Regions from separate parts of the Homo sapiens genome. Here all the other regions are linked to region 1. Evidence: promoter capture Hi-C in 16 types of primary human blood cells and fetal thymus (Javierre and others, 2016). All regions are on one chromosome and are shown on one strand. The core of a region is centred on a gene start or on the middle of the fragment in contact, and the rest is flanking DNA. Distances in the headings are between cores, read along the strand shown.

Region 1 (3,443 bases), core at 691-3,190:
GCTTGAGGCCAGGAATTAAAGACTGCACTGAGCCATGATTGTGCCACTGGACTCTAGCCTAGGTGACAAAGAGAAACCTTGTCTCAAAAAAAAAAAAAAAAAAAAAAAATTAACACACAGTAAAAGTTTATTGCAAAACCAAATAGACTCATTCTGCAAAACCACTTAGAAAGTTAACTGTAATTGAATCATGTCCTCTCAGTTTATCAATGAGCAACAGATATAGTAAGCAGCTCAATTACATCATTCTATACTCTGGAGCTAAGTGATACCGCTTTTAATCTAGTGTTTACTACAAGAAAATGACTGTCATTATTCTGAACTCCTAAACTAACATCTAGTTAGGACACTACAGAAACTCCTAGAGGCAAAGGAGCAGCCCTGTCTTAGCTGGGCAGATTAAGGACACTCTTTTGACTAATTGGATTTAACAATCCATTACCATCTTTCAAAAGGACAAAAGGGGTGCATTTTGTGTTTTAATCTCTTTGATAAAGATACAGCATTTGGGGCCGGGCGCGGAGGCTCACGCCTGTAATCCCAGCACTTTGGGAGGCTGAGGCAGGCAGATCCCGAGGTCAGGAGATCGAGACCATCCCGGCCAACGGGGTGAAACCCCGTCTCTACTAAAAATACAAAAATTAACTGGGCCTGCTGGCGCGCACCAGCTACTCGGGAGGCTGAGGCAGGAGAATCGCTTAAACCCAGGAAGCGGAGGCTGCAGTGAGCCGAGATCGCACTACTGCACTCCAGCCTGGCGACAGAGCGGGACTCCGTTAAAACAAACAACAAAAAAAGATACAGCATTTGAGCCGGGAGCAGTGGCTCACGCCTGTAATCCCAGCACTTTCGTAGGCTGAGGTGGGTTGATCACTTGAGGTCAGGAGTTCGAGACCAGCCTGGCCAACTTGGTGAAACCCGTCTCTACTAAAAATACAAAAATTAGCTGAGCATCCTGGTGCGCGCCTGTAATCCCAGCTACTCCGGAGGCCGAGGAGGGAGAATCGGTTGAACCCGGGAGGCGGAGGTTCCAGTGAGCCCAGATTGCGCCACTGCACTCCAGCCTGACGACACAGCGAGACTCCGTCTCAAAAAAAATAAAAAATAAAAAAAAATAGAGGTTGAAAGCATCAAGTTTTGAATGCACAATAGCTTGGCAGAAAAACTTTCACTTGAAAATTTGATGAGCAACTCCTGGAACCTTCACCAAGCAATTTTTGAAATATACCGAGTTTTGCCAGAAAACTCGTTTTTAACTCAAATAAGGAGCCAAGAGAAATAGTCTGCTTACTCATGCTTACACATTTTGGGAAAAATTACTTGTATACCAGTGTCTGACTCATTCCTCCAACTCTGAAAGGTCTGATGAGGACTTAGCCTCTCGGACTTCGTGAGGTGGCTAATTTACGGTTTATTCCTGGCCTTCCTACCTCCTCAGAAAAGCCAACTAGCAGGGCTCCACAGCAGGGACCGGCCGGCGACCATGTAATGGAACAGGAGCGCAGAAAGAAAGGGGGGCGGACTACGAAAAGTCATCAAGGACCACACAAGCTTTAATACAAAGATTGCACAATGAGCGCGGGGCGCGGCACACAATAAGAAGCTCTGGAAACGCACACTCTCTGACACCTCAAAGTTTTAGGGACTTGGATGGCTGCAGAAAAATATTGGCAAAGGGATTTTCTGGGGAGGCAGGAAGAAAACGGCCGCCCTGCGAGGCGACGACCAGGCGCGGGGGACGAAGGGACCGCTGGACCCACGCCCAGGCCGGGTCGGCGGGGTCGGCAATCCTCAAGGGGGAAATGGGGTCCGAGGCACGCCCCAGGCAGCGGGCCCCGCTCTTCGGCAGCTCCACTCACCAGGAACTGGAGCATGATGTCGGTGGGGAGGGCGAGGAGGGCGCGAAGGACTGCAGCAGCTCCGCGGGCCGGTCCGAGCCTACCTCCCCATGCGCGGGGGGGGCGGAACCCCTCGTCGACTTCCGGGTCACGCCACGCCCCGCCCCGCTCCTCCCACTCAGCCCGCGCCCGGAAACGACTTGCAGTGTCGCAGCGCCCAGGTTCCCCCTGGCGGAGCGCGTTGGCCTCACCGCCTGAACCGGCGGGGCAGCGAGCGCGCGACAGGACTTGCGAAGAGCAAGTCCCGAGCCTGGCTGGGCATCCTTGAGCATCCCGCCTCTGTAAACCTGGGCCGAGGCCCAGGAATCTATATTATTCTCAGCACGCGGACTATTCTGATACACAGCCCAGTTTAGGGCTCTCTAACCTAGAAGGACGGCATGAGCAGCGGGTCCCATCCCTAGGTTCGCAGCTGAATCGTGGGGGCTTTTGCAGCATCCTCTACTTGGGCCCAGCTGGACTTTGCGGGGAGGAAAGGAGGCTTGTAGCTCTCAAAGCTCCGCAGGTGTGCTGTGTAATCAGCGTTGTGTAATCAGGTGTTGTGTAATCAAGGTAGAGGCTGGGTACCGTATGGGGCCCATGCTGCCGTGTGCCGCACGCCAGTCACTGAGATGATGAGTTTTGTAGCAGAGAAAAGGTTTATTCACCAGGCAGCCAGCCGAGGAGACGGGAGAACAGATCTCAAATCTGCCTCCCCAAAGATGGGTTTTAGGGATATTTATGGGATAGAGGAGCAGGGTGGTCTGAGGTGTGGGGAAAGGCGGTTGAAGGTAAGGAAAAGTTTGGCAATGGGTTATCTGCGCGAGGTAGTCAAGCTTCATGGCTCTTTATAGGATACATGGTCACAAAATGACATCCTTAGCATGATCTGAGTGTGGAGGTTTTGGCCCTCTAATGTCAGAAGGACACCCATCGGGCTTTCATGCAGGCCCAGTTGAGAGGTTGGTGGTTTAAACTGTACAAGAACTGACCCCAACTTCCTGAAAAACAAGAAACCTTTATCAAGCAACCCAGATGTCAGAGATGTTATCCATAAGGAAGATAGTGGGAGCTTAGATATATATTGTTTAGCTCTGTGACTTTAGCTATGTGGGTTTTTTAATCCACTAAAAGCAGGTGACTAAAAACAAGTGAGAGAAGTTGCATTTGGCAGGCCTCATCAGGTTGGCTCTCAGTTTCACTGGCCTAGCTGGGTTTCTTGCCTGGGATGGCCATAGGTCCTGTTGACAATTTGTATCATCGCCACAAAGAGTCTGTTCTGTCAGTCTTCCGGTCTGTGTATGTGTGTGTTTTTTTCTCTCTTTCTCTTTTAAAGAATTTATTTTAAGCCTATTATACCACACAGTATGTTTTAAACACTAACTCCCTAATAAGATATATAACTCCCTAATAAGATAAAGCAAAGACAAAAAAAGTTCATCTTATTAGAAACAAGATACACCATCCCTTATTGTCTTCAAAAATTATTGCACTTTAATTTTCATAATTTGACAAAGCATTCATGAAACAATCTGCAGACTAGTTTTAACAGACAAATAACACCTG
Region 2 (3,443 bases), core at 320-2,819, about 15 Mb after region 1:
ATAACCCTATTTCCAAGTAAGGTCACATTCTGAGGTACTGGAGTTTAGGGCTTCAACATATCTTTTCAGGGATGGGGTACACAATTTAACCCATAATACCAATGAATGGAGTTAGCATATGGGGCTATAATAAAATAGAAAGGACATAGGTCTCAGTCCAGTCCTGTCCACACTATCAACTTGTTATGTTACTTTGAGAGAGCCACTTTCTTTCTGTGACCTTCTTTCTCTTCACTTAAAAAAGAAAGATGTTGAACTTAATCATCTCTAACTTATTTGCAGTTCTAACATTCTAATGTTCCTTCATTTATAAATAGTTACAATGAAACATAAGTTTTATTAGGGATGTTTAAGCACACATCCACTTATGGAGATAAGGGCTGCTATAATGAAGGAAGTGAAACTCCATAGGTTCTCAAAAGCTTTAAGAATGATCATGAAGATTTCTAGAGGTATTGAGTAGAGCAGGCTCCCTGGAGGAGACTCCTGACAGAAGGAGAGATGTGGGAGTTTAGAAAATAGGCAGGCTGTTGGGTGGATTATGGATTATGGATTACACATAGAGACAGGGTAGAGATAAGGCTGGAAAAGTATGTTGGAACATGCCAGGATCAGTGTGGTTTCTACTCAATTGAGTGCGCTCAACGTTACAACTCCTGAAAGCTTTCAGCAGAGGTATTAATGGGACCTGTGCACAGACTGCCTAGAATATGCAGGCAGATGGAGGGGTAACTGGTTAAACCACTGAATGAGTCTAGGTTAGTGACAACAAGGACACAGCATTGAGATTGTGAAGATAGATGCTAAGATTTTGGAATCTGATGAACTCTTATCTGAATTAATTTGGAGGACTAGAGAAAATTCCACTTTACATAGCCATAAGGGCTGTGCTCATGTGATATTTACTAAAATTATAATAGTATAATAAAGGGCTAAATGCACAGCATGGTCCCAGAGAGAAATTAGAAGTTAGAGCTAAAAAAGGAGCACCATGTCTACAGGCAATATATAAACCACAAGGAGGAAATCCAGATCTGGGCCAGATGCCAAGGAGAAGAGGAAGCAACATGCAAGCTGGTTGAGACTAATGTTTCTGAATAAGGGCTGTGAACAAGGCAAGAATATTTTGGACTTTGCACAACAATGTAAATATGATTAATACTACTTAACTGTATACTCACAAATGGTTAAGAGGTTAAATTTTATAATATGTGGGGTTTTTTTACCTCTATTAAAAATTTCTAAGGATAATTCCCTTTTCTTTTTTTTTTGAGACAGGAGCTTGCTCTGTCACCTAGGCTGGAGTGCAGAGGCATGATCACAGGTCACTGCAGCCTTGACATCCCTGGCTCAAGCAATCCTCCCACCTTGGCCTCTCGAGTAGCTGGGGGGCTCCAGGCACATGCCATCAATCCCAGCTAATTTTTTTTTAACTTTTTGTGGAGATAGGCTCTCCCTATTTTGCCTAGGCTGGTCTTGAACTCCTGGACTTAAGTGATCCTCCTGCTTCAGCCTCCCAAAGTGCTAGGATTACAGATGTGAGCCACCACTCCCAGAGTTATTGAAGAAGAAGAAGAAGAAGAAGGAGGAGGAGGAGGAGGAGGAGGAGAAGAAGGAGGAGGAGAAGGAGGAGGAGAAGGAGAAGAAGAAGAAGAGGAAGAAGAAGAAGAAGAAGAAGAAGAGGAAGAAGAATAAAAAAAACTGAAGAATGTTGTGGTCTTTCTAATTTGGAGCTCGCCATGTCGCTCAGTGGCAGACCTCAGATTTGGTAAGGAGCCAGGCCAGATGGATTTGGTGAGGAGCAAGGTACAGGGAAGAAGCAAGAAATATCAAAGGTGTAAAAACTATGCATCTAGGAAAATGGTGGTTGGGTGACAGGTCCTATTCATGGAAATAGGGAGGTTAAGAGGAGTCATTGATTTGGGCATGAGGTTTGTGAAATAAATTATTTAAATTTTTGTAGTATTTTATAATATTCTAGAAAAAGGTAGCAGGAATTTGAAGAGGTAGGTGATATGTCATCTGCCAAGGGTGAAAATTAACAATAGGCAAAACTGATACATTCATCAAGGAAAAGTATAAAACAAGGCAAAGATCCAAGGACCTAAGGTTGGAAATGTCTACCTGTGTCATCAGAGAGAGGAAATGAACTCGAAAAGAGACCACAAGTTTTTCAGAATAACCTTGTTGTGTTGTGGAATTCGAAAAGGAAATTTCAAGAAAGAGTCACTTCCCAATAGCAGAACATGCCTCAGAGAAGAAGGATGTAGACTGAAAATAGATCTCATTAGATTTGGTAATAAGGGGTTCACCAAGAGAGGTTTCAATAGAAATGACCAAATGCAAAGGATAAGGAATCGGGAGAGGTAACAAGGAAGTACATGCAAAGAGAACCAGTTACAGTTTCTCTGAAGGGAAGTAGAGAGACAGGGAGCATATCATATTAGGTAGATTGCCAGGTACAAAGAAAGCTTATTGTTTTATTAGTTCTACACATGTTCGCTGGCAGGAGGAAAGATTTGGAATTGGCAATATTATAAGTAATAGAGGGTAACTGTGGAGCCAATTTTGAAAAAGGTTGAAAAGGGGGTGTTCAAGAACACACATGGAAAGTAAGATTTGGCGAAGAAGAGGCATTTTGAAACAGCCTACCAACTGGTCTTCCTGCCTTCAATTCTACTCCAGTCCATTCTGCAATGTGTGTTTTCTCACTTTCTCTCTAATACACTTATGTATTTATGCCAGTCTTTGCTTAGCATTCTTCAGGGATTCTCTGTTGCCTTTGGAATAGAATCCAGACTCCTTATCATGTGCACATTTCCAACATCTAGACCCTGCTGACTTTTCTACTTTGTGTATTTGCCTTCCTGCTTCCATCAGTAACAACAACAACAACACACACACACACACACACACACACACACACACAGTATAACAAATACTTTGAATTCTCCAAATGTATCAGGCTATCCAGCTATTTCATTTCTTATTTGCATATGCAGGCTAATCTGCATGTAATACTTTTTTCTTTCTCTACCCTCTCTAGTTCCTTCTCAACATTCAAAAAGTAGTCTTGTAATTGTCAGTTTCCTATCACCGTGTTAATTTACTTGTCTGTCTCACAGAAGCTTTTATTTCTATATAACTTGTATCTCATAAAGAGGCTAATACATACAAATTGTCCAATAAATATTTACTAAATGAATGAAAATGAATAAATGAAAGATATCGGGAGGAGAAAGGGTAGAGAGGAAGCAAGGTTCTGTAGGGGATTTTTTTTTAGTTAAAGAGAAGGATTCTCAGTGAGATAATTACAACATTTTTATATAAAAGAAGAGAGGCCTCTTGCCAAGAGTGCAAGCATTTTTTGCTGGATTTTTGGTGGATTTCTAGAAAGCAAAGTTATCAAACTACTGCCTCAGTAGTGAGTAGGCCACATTGCC
Region 3 (3,443 bases), core at 835-3,334, about 12 Mb after region 1:
GACCCAGCAAAGTGAATGTTTAAAACCAGTGGAATGTTTATTAGTAGCAGAATGTAAGATAAATTATGATTTTGGAGATGGGAGTGTATGAGTGTTTGTAAAATCTTATCTGCACACCTCCACACCTGGTCTACCCATCCAAGAAAGCCTAATTCTAGTGGTTACCTCTATGCCCATTTTTCCCCTTTACTTTTCATGAATGTGTGGAAATGATTAAAATGAATTTACTTTTACTGATCATTATTAAAACAAAGCCAATTTTATCTGAATATATATTTCACTATTCTAGTAAAAATATATTTTAAAATGGGATGACTGAAAAAAATGGCATTGGATATTACAAAGTTATTGGGGAGATGAGAGTGCAATTTCAGCAGAACAGTATAAAGAAATAAATGAAGACAATGAACATTTATGAATAAGGGAATGGACCTGTATTAATTTTATTAATCCTTTTAACATATCAAATCAAATTAAACAGTACTGTAATGGTTAAAAAATCTGGGACCTGGAGTTAGATTGCTTAGGTTTAATCCTGGTTCCCTCATTAAACTTTGTGTGCCTTAGTTTTCTCATTTACAAAATGGGTCTAATAGCAGTTTCTCCCTAATAAAATCGTTGTAAGGATTAAATTAGAAATCTATGTACGGTGCCTCATGACAATGAATACTTCATAAATGTTAGCTGCTATTATGAGATAGCAACATGTAGTTTGTTACTAAATTTCCAAGAGGAACATACTTGACTTGACCTCCAATACTATCCTGTGGTTCTTTAAAAGTTTTCTTATTCATTGATAGGCCGGGCGCGGTGGCTCACTCCTGTAATCCCCAACACTTTTGAAGGCGGATTGCTTGAGGCTAGGAGTTCCAGATCAGCCTGGCCAACATGGTGAAACCCCATCTCTACTAAAAATACCAAAATTAGCCGGGGGTGGTGGCGGGCGCCTGTAATCTCAGCTACTCAGGAGGCTGAGGCAGGAGAATCGCGGGAGCCAGGGAGGTAGAGGTTGCATTGAGCCGAGATCGAACCACTGCACTTCAACCTGGGCGACAGAGCAAGACTCTGTATACACTAGAAAAAAAAAAAAAAAAAAGAATTTGTTGTTAGACAAAATTTAGTTTATTAACTAATTTAGTGATTAACAAAAGTTCTTCTAAGCAGAATTATTTGATAGCTACTATCTCCCTTTTCTCTTTGGCTGCCAGGAAGCTGAGAGCCAAGTTGTTAGTTTAACAAAAGCAAGTAGGCACCTGACAGTTTCTCGCCTCTGACTTCATCGTGATGATTTCTCTGACTCGGATTTTTTTTATATCTGTAAAATTAAACTGCTGTCAGTGTTTGGTTTAGAGAGCTGTGCCGTTTCACAAGTGTAAAAGATCTTGGAGAGAAGTTAGTGTCCTGATTCACTTGGATCTAGGTAGCCAGTTGGTAACAGCCTCCGCCTCTGGCTCCTCCCCTTCTCCCTGCCGCGTCCCTCCTCCCCGCCCCTTCGCCTCTGGCCCCGCCCCTTCTCCCTGCCGCTTCCCTCCTCCACGCCCGCTCGCCTCTGACTCCTCCCCTTCTCCCTGACGCGTCCCTCTTCCTGTCTCTTCGCCTCTGGCTCCTCCCCTTTCTCCTGCCATGTTTCTTCTCCCCGCCCCCTCGCCTCTGGCTCCTCCCCCTTTTCCCTATCGCGTTCCTCCTTTGCAGCCCCCATCCCCCTCCTCTGGCTCCTCTTCTTCCCTACCGCGATCCTCCTTCCAGACCCCGGCCCCCAGCCCGCCTCTAGCTCCTTCCCTTATTTCCTGCCGCGCTCCTCCTTCCCGACACCGCCCCTCCGCCTCTGGCTACTCCTCTTCTCTCCTGCCGCACTCCTCCTTCCCGGCCCCACCTCCCCGCCTCTGGCTCATCCCCTTCTCTTCTGCCGCCCTCCTCCTTCCCGGCCCCGCCCCCAGTCTTTGGCTCCTCCCCCTACCCTGCCGCGCTCCTCCTTCCCGGCCCCTCCCCGCTGCCCTCTTCTGGCTCCTCCCCCCCACCCGCCTCTGGCTCCTCTCCTTCCCACCCCTGCCGTGCTCCGGCAGGAAGAGGTGGTGCCAGGGCCGTTGCTAGGATACGACCAACAGCTGAGAACGCGGCGAGTATGGAAGCTGCGTCTTAGGAGCCTGGGAAAGCACTTCGACGAGAATAGTTTGGTTTCGTACACAGGTAGGAGAACAGATTTTGACTGCGGCCTCCTGGTCCGACGCTTAGATCCAGCCTAGAGCCGGTGACAGCCGCGCTGGACTCTGGGTTCTGTGTGCTGGGCAGTGATTCCCACCTGAGCGCCTGGGGCTGCCTAGTCGGTCAGGAATGTTCCGACTTTACTTTAAAAACCGTGCGAAGCATCTCATCTTTCTCGGCTCCTTTTTTGGCTTCCCCTCTCTGATTTGGGACTTGAACCAGCAGCATCAAGCTAGGAGGTACACCTCACCTCACACCCTGGGTGCTTGTCACGGTAATTGCATAGAAGATGTGTGTATAACCCACACCTGGCACTAGAGACTCTTAGCCTTCCGTGGCCACCATTCTCATATTAAGTCGAGAGATTTTAGACTTTCCTCACCTGGCACTCTCACTCCTTCCTCTCCACCCTTGGTCTTTGCCTCTTAACAAACCTAAAAATTCAACAGATCTATTTGGTAGAAGGCAATACTGGATCCCTGCCTCACTAATTATACTACATTCTAAATGTGTTAAGCTTTAAATGGTAGGGAATGAAATGTAGGTGAAAAGGGAGACTTTTTTGTATGCAAACATGATAGAGGTTGCTTTTTAAACAATAAGATTTAAACATTTTCATTTGAATAGATAATACATAAAAAAATAGTTCGAATAGTAAAAAGAATGAAGAGTGAAAATCCTCCATCTACCCATTTCTCCCCATCTCCAGGCCACCTTCCACAGGTGTTTTAGACATACGCAAATATGTAGTTACACCTGTAACATTGTGCATACTCTTCTGTGATTGGCTTTTACACTTAAGACTGTGTGTCCAGTTGTTTTCTATCAATATTTACAGATCTGTCTCATTTATGCATTTATGGATGAATTTATGTATTTATGTTTCATTGTGAGAAGGTGTTTCGAAGCATGTCAGGAAATTTGGAAACTCTCATAAGCAAAAAGATTGATAAATGTCACTACCTAACAATCTAAAACTTTTATATAGTAAGAGAAAAACAACATCAAACATACAATGGGAAATATAAGGGCAACACACAACAAAGGGATATTTAATTATTAGGACTCATAAAACAATATGAGGATGTAAGGAAACAGTCAAGGGGAACTTCTTGGGGCTATAATAGAAAACAGTTTGATGGAATTTAACAAAATTAAGATCTGTATGCCCTTTGACTTGTCCATTCTAATTCTGGGAACTCATTTTCAGTATACTTACACATATATACAGAGATAGATGT
Region 4 (3,443 bases), core at 282-2,781, about 12 Mb after region 1:
GTGCTTTTCCTTCTGGATAGGTTTTTTTTTTTTTCTTGCTAATTCAATTTCTTTAATTATGTTAGATCTAGTCAGATTTTTCTTTATGCCTTCTTGAGTTGATTTAGGTAGTTTGTGTTTTTCTAGGAATCTGGCCATTTTATCTACTTTATCTTTTTTAAGCATAGTTGTTCATAGTATTCCTTCTTATTCCTGTTTATTTCAGCAAGGCTATTAGTGATGGTTCTTTTATTCTTGCTTGTATTAAATCTTCTCTCTTTTTTTTCTTAGTTTCACTAAAGGTTTGCCAATTTTGTTGATCCTTTTAGGGAACCAATTCCTGGTTTCATTGATTTTCTTTATTGATATTCTGTCTCCTTCTTTTCTAATCTTTAATATTTCCTTTCTTCTGTTTGCTTTTGGTTTAGCTTTCATTTTTTCTAGTCTCATGCCTCTAATGAAAGGCCTCATCTCTTCCAACTCATTCTCTTCAACTGTTGCCTAAGTTGTTTGTATATCTGAAACATAAATTTGATGGTGTCACTTAGAAGCTTAAAAGTCTTCTCATTGTTCCCATTCCTTAAAAAGTAAAATTCAAATTTTGTATAATGGCAAACAACACCTTTCATAATCTTAACCAGTTTACCTTAACAATCAAACCCACCTTTCCAATCACATAAAATCACCTGGAATTTATATATACATTTTTAACCTCTTTTCCTTTGTACTTGTGTTTTCTCAATTTGTTCTTTTCTCCTACTGACTTTTTAGAAAGTCACCCACGCTTTTTAGTTATTTCCTTTTCCCTGGTACCATCACACTTTGCATCAACTTCTTTTAGAACAGTTACCAAATTATTTATTAATACACGCCTTCTTCATTATTCTTTGAATTCCAGGATGTGAAATCCCATTTTAGAAATTATGTCCCAGTAACTGACACATAGTGAGTGGTCAGTGTTTGTGGAGGTAGGAAAAAGTGGTATGGTCTGATATCATTTCATCTGGAAATAAGATGATGTATTTCAGCCAGTGAAATCGAAAAGAGCGATGGAAAATGACCTCACACTCCATAGGGCTTTGGTTCGTAAGACACAGAGAATACTGATATCCTTGTGCGAAGAACTAACTTGCTGTTGAGAGATCAATTCAGAGGATGCTCAAGCTCCGTTATCACTTTCATTTTACTAAACTGAGAAAGGAAGGTTGAGGAATGCATCAACGGTTAAGCACAGTGCAGGTTCCTACAGCGACTGGAGTTTTTTGGTAGTTGGGAGTGTTTCCCTCAATCTTTGGGCAAGCCGTCAGCAGTGGCAGGAACAGGAACAGACAGCTGGGAAACCCTTTCTTTCCCCAATCGTCTTCTAGCTTAGCTTTAGGCTTGTATGCCCATCGCGCATGCGTCAATTTTTCTCTTTTAAGATGGGCGGGGCAGAGTCTTTGCTCCTTTGGCGATCCTGAAGGGGTGGAGCTAAGCTGTTTCCAGGGTGACAGAGTGGCGACCTCGGTGGTCGATTGAGCAGGTCTGAGAATTGTTCCCAAAGGGTTGTGCGTCACCGAGTCGTTGGCGCTGTCATGGCGGGTGTGCTGAAGAAGGTGAGACGAATGGAGGTCACTGTTGGAATTTAGACTGTGGGGGTAGACTCAGTCCGATAGCCCTACTTCCCGCGGGTGTTGACCCCTACTGTCGCGGGCTCGGCGGTGCTTTTCGGGGACTCGTTCTGCATGCCTTACCGGGTAGGGCAGGTTAGTGGTTCCGCTCCGAGAGTCAGGAAAAAAGCTCCAAACAAGCGAGACTGAGAGACCAGTAGCTGGCTTTAGACCAGTTTTAGCCGGGGGATTCGTGGTTTTGTATTTCCTTAGCGTGCTGGATGTATGGAAACCGTAGTAAACAGCATGAATCGTGTTTTGTTTTTGAACAGACCACTGGCCTTGTGGGATTGGCTGTGTGCAATACTCCTCACGAGGTATGTACCTTTGTTCTTTCTTCGTTCTTGAATTCCCAAGGAAGACTAAATTCCTGTCACTTTGCTTATTGCAGGGTTAACGGGATACAGATGTTTCAAGCCCTTAATTACAAGCCGCGTGAGCTCTTGAGACACGGGCGCTGTCCACCTACTTCGTTGATCCGATGTCACATTTTTATTTATTTTTGCCATGACCTCTTTATTAAGCCAGTTTTCTTGTTGACTTTTTCCTTGACATTTTCATGGCTTCACTTGTGCTTGCTTCTGTCAGCGCCATCTCAAATTTATATCTCCGTTTTCCATCTTTTCTCCTTGCCTTACCGTTTCTGCTTAGGTGCGTTGGATTACATATATTTAGGCTTACTAAAGGTACTGCCCCCTTTTCCTTCTGTTAGGTCTTTTCCATCTGTATTCACGAATGTTTTCATCAAAAAAACCCACAAAATTTTTTTATTCTTCTTGTCCCTTCTATAATCACACCATTTCTTTGCTTCACTTTACAGATAACTCAAAAGAGTTATCTCTATTTTCTCCAATTTCTTTCTTATTCACCCTTGAATGCACTCAGTCACCCTTGGCGTTTTTCAAGTTCACCAATTATCTCCATGCTGCCAAATCCAATGGTCAGCTCATATTTCTCACCTTCATTGACCTAATAGCAGCGTTTTTTGACACATTTGACACTTTTTCCATCACGCTCTTTTCAAGTTCACCAGTTATCTCCATGTTGCCAAATCCAATGGTCAGCTTATGTTTCTCACCTTCATTGACCTAATAGCAGCGTTTTTTTTTTTTTGACACATTTGACACTTTTTCCATCATGCGCTTTCTTTACTGGGCTTCAGGACTCCCCCAGTCTCCTGATTTTTTCCCCCTACTCTTTGGCTTTCTCTTTTTCTGGTTATTTCTCTTATGCCCACTTTTAAAATTTGAGTTAGTCAGGATTTAGTTCTTGGACCTTTTCTTTTGGACCTGTACTCTGTCACCAAGAGAGAGCAAATCCAAATAGAGAACGGTTTTAAATACCACCTATACACTGACAACAGATTTCCATGTAAAGCACTGACCTCTTCCTTTATAAAAGTCCTGAATATTTAATTGCTTAGTGGGCATCTCTATTTGTATGTGTCAGACAGGCAACCCAAACTTAACATGTCCAAAATGGGGTTCCTGATCTTCTGCCTAAAACCTGCTCTTCTCTCAGTCTTGCTCATCTCAATTAATGGCAGCTCAATTATTTTGACTCAGGTCAGAAACTTGAAATCATCTTTGATTCCTTCCTTTCTCTTACACTCCACATTTGTTATTTCAGTAAACCCTCTAGGTTCCACCTTCAAAATATATCTTGATTTTGACAACATCTCACTACCTCCTCTGCTACTACCCTCTTCCTCAGTCACCATCATCACTGATGTGGATAATTGCATTCACTTCTTAACTGCCTCTCAATGCTTGTCACAGCCTCCATTTGGTCTTTTTTTCCAGCCAGGCTACTAGA

What was found. The method cuts DNA at HindIII sites, captures the fragments that hold promoters and counts their contacts. A CHiCAGO score of 5 or more calls a contact.
Region 2: a fragment that was not itself captured here is called in contact with the fragment with the promoter of STMP1 in region 1 in 1 of 17 cell types (M0 macrophages); the score reaches 5.1 in M0 macrophages.
Region 3: the fragment with the promoter of IQUB here is called in contact with the fragment with the promoter of STMP1 in region 1 in 4 of 17 cell types (fetal thymus, non-activated CD4 T cells, naive CD8 T cells and 1 more); the score reaches 13.8 in fetal thymus.
Region 4: a contact is called between the fragment with the promoter of NDUFA5 here and the fragment with the promoter of STMP1 in region 1, in 2 of 17 cell types (total CD4 T cells and total B cells). The highest score is 8.2, in total CD4 T cells.

What each region holds. Positions count from the first base shown.
Region 1 is chr7:135,661,011-135,664,453 of GRCh38, reverse strand. STMP1 (short transmembrane mitochondrial protein 1) reads right to left here and starts at 1,940. Exons shown (of 3, transcript NM_001130929.2): 1 at 1,860-1,940. The coding sequence starts at 1,874. RefSeq lists enhancers at 157-681, 682-1,206 and a silencer at 1,846-2,065. The HindIII fragment of the contact is 1,162 bases long and covers 1,554-2,715 here.
Region 2 is chr7:120,994,112-120,997,554 of GRCh38, reverse strand. All of the region lies in intron 2 of CPED1 (cadherin like and PC-esterase domain containing 1), which reads right to left. Among named protein-coding and RNA genes, the nearest start is that of CPED1, 7.1 kb to the right of the region's middle. The HindIII fragment of the contact is 1,808 bases long and covers 666-2,473 here.
Region 3 is chr7:123,533,236-123,536,678 of GRCh38, reverse strand. It overlaps IQUB (IQ motif and ubiquitin domain containing), which reads left to right and starts at 2,084. Exons shown (of 13, transcript NM_178827.5): 1 at 2,084-2,187. It overlaps LOC124901740 (a long non-coding RNA gene), which reads right to left and starts at 2,148. Exons shown (of 2, transcript XR_007060507.1): 1 at 1,254-2,148; 2 at 420-1,074. RefSeq lists an enhancer at 1,198-1,337 and silencers at 1,408-1,537, 1,618-1,767, 1,788-2,017. The HindIII fragment of the contact is 3,094 bases long and covers 1-2,721 here.
Region 4 is chr7:123,555,906-123,559,348 of GRCh38, reverse strand. NDUFA5 (NADH:ubiquinone oxidoreductase subunit A5) reads left to right here and starts at 1,531. Exons shown (of 5, transcript NM_005000.5): 1 at 1,531-1,574; 2 at 1,901-1,945. The coding sequence starts at 1,554. RefSeq lists enhancers at 1,054-1,193, 1,454-1,503, 1,244-1,822, 1,059-2,258, 1,823-2,401. The HindIII fragment of the contact is 10,047 bases long and covers 533-3,443 here.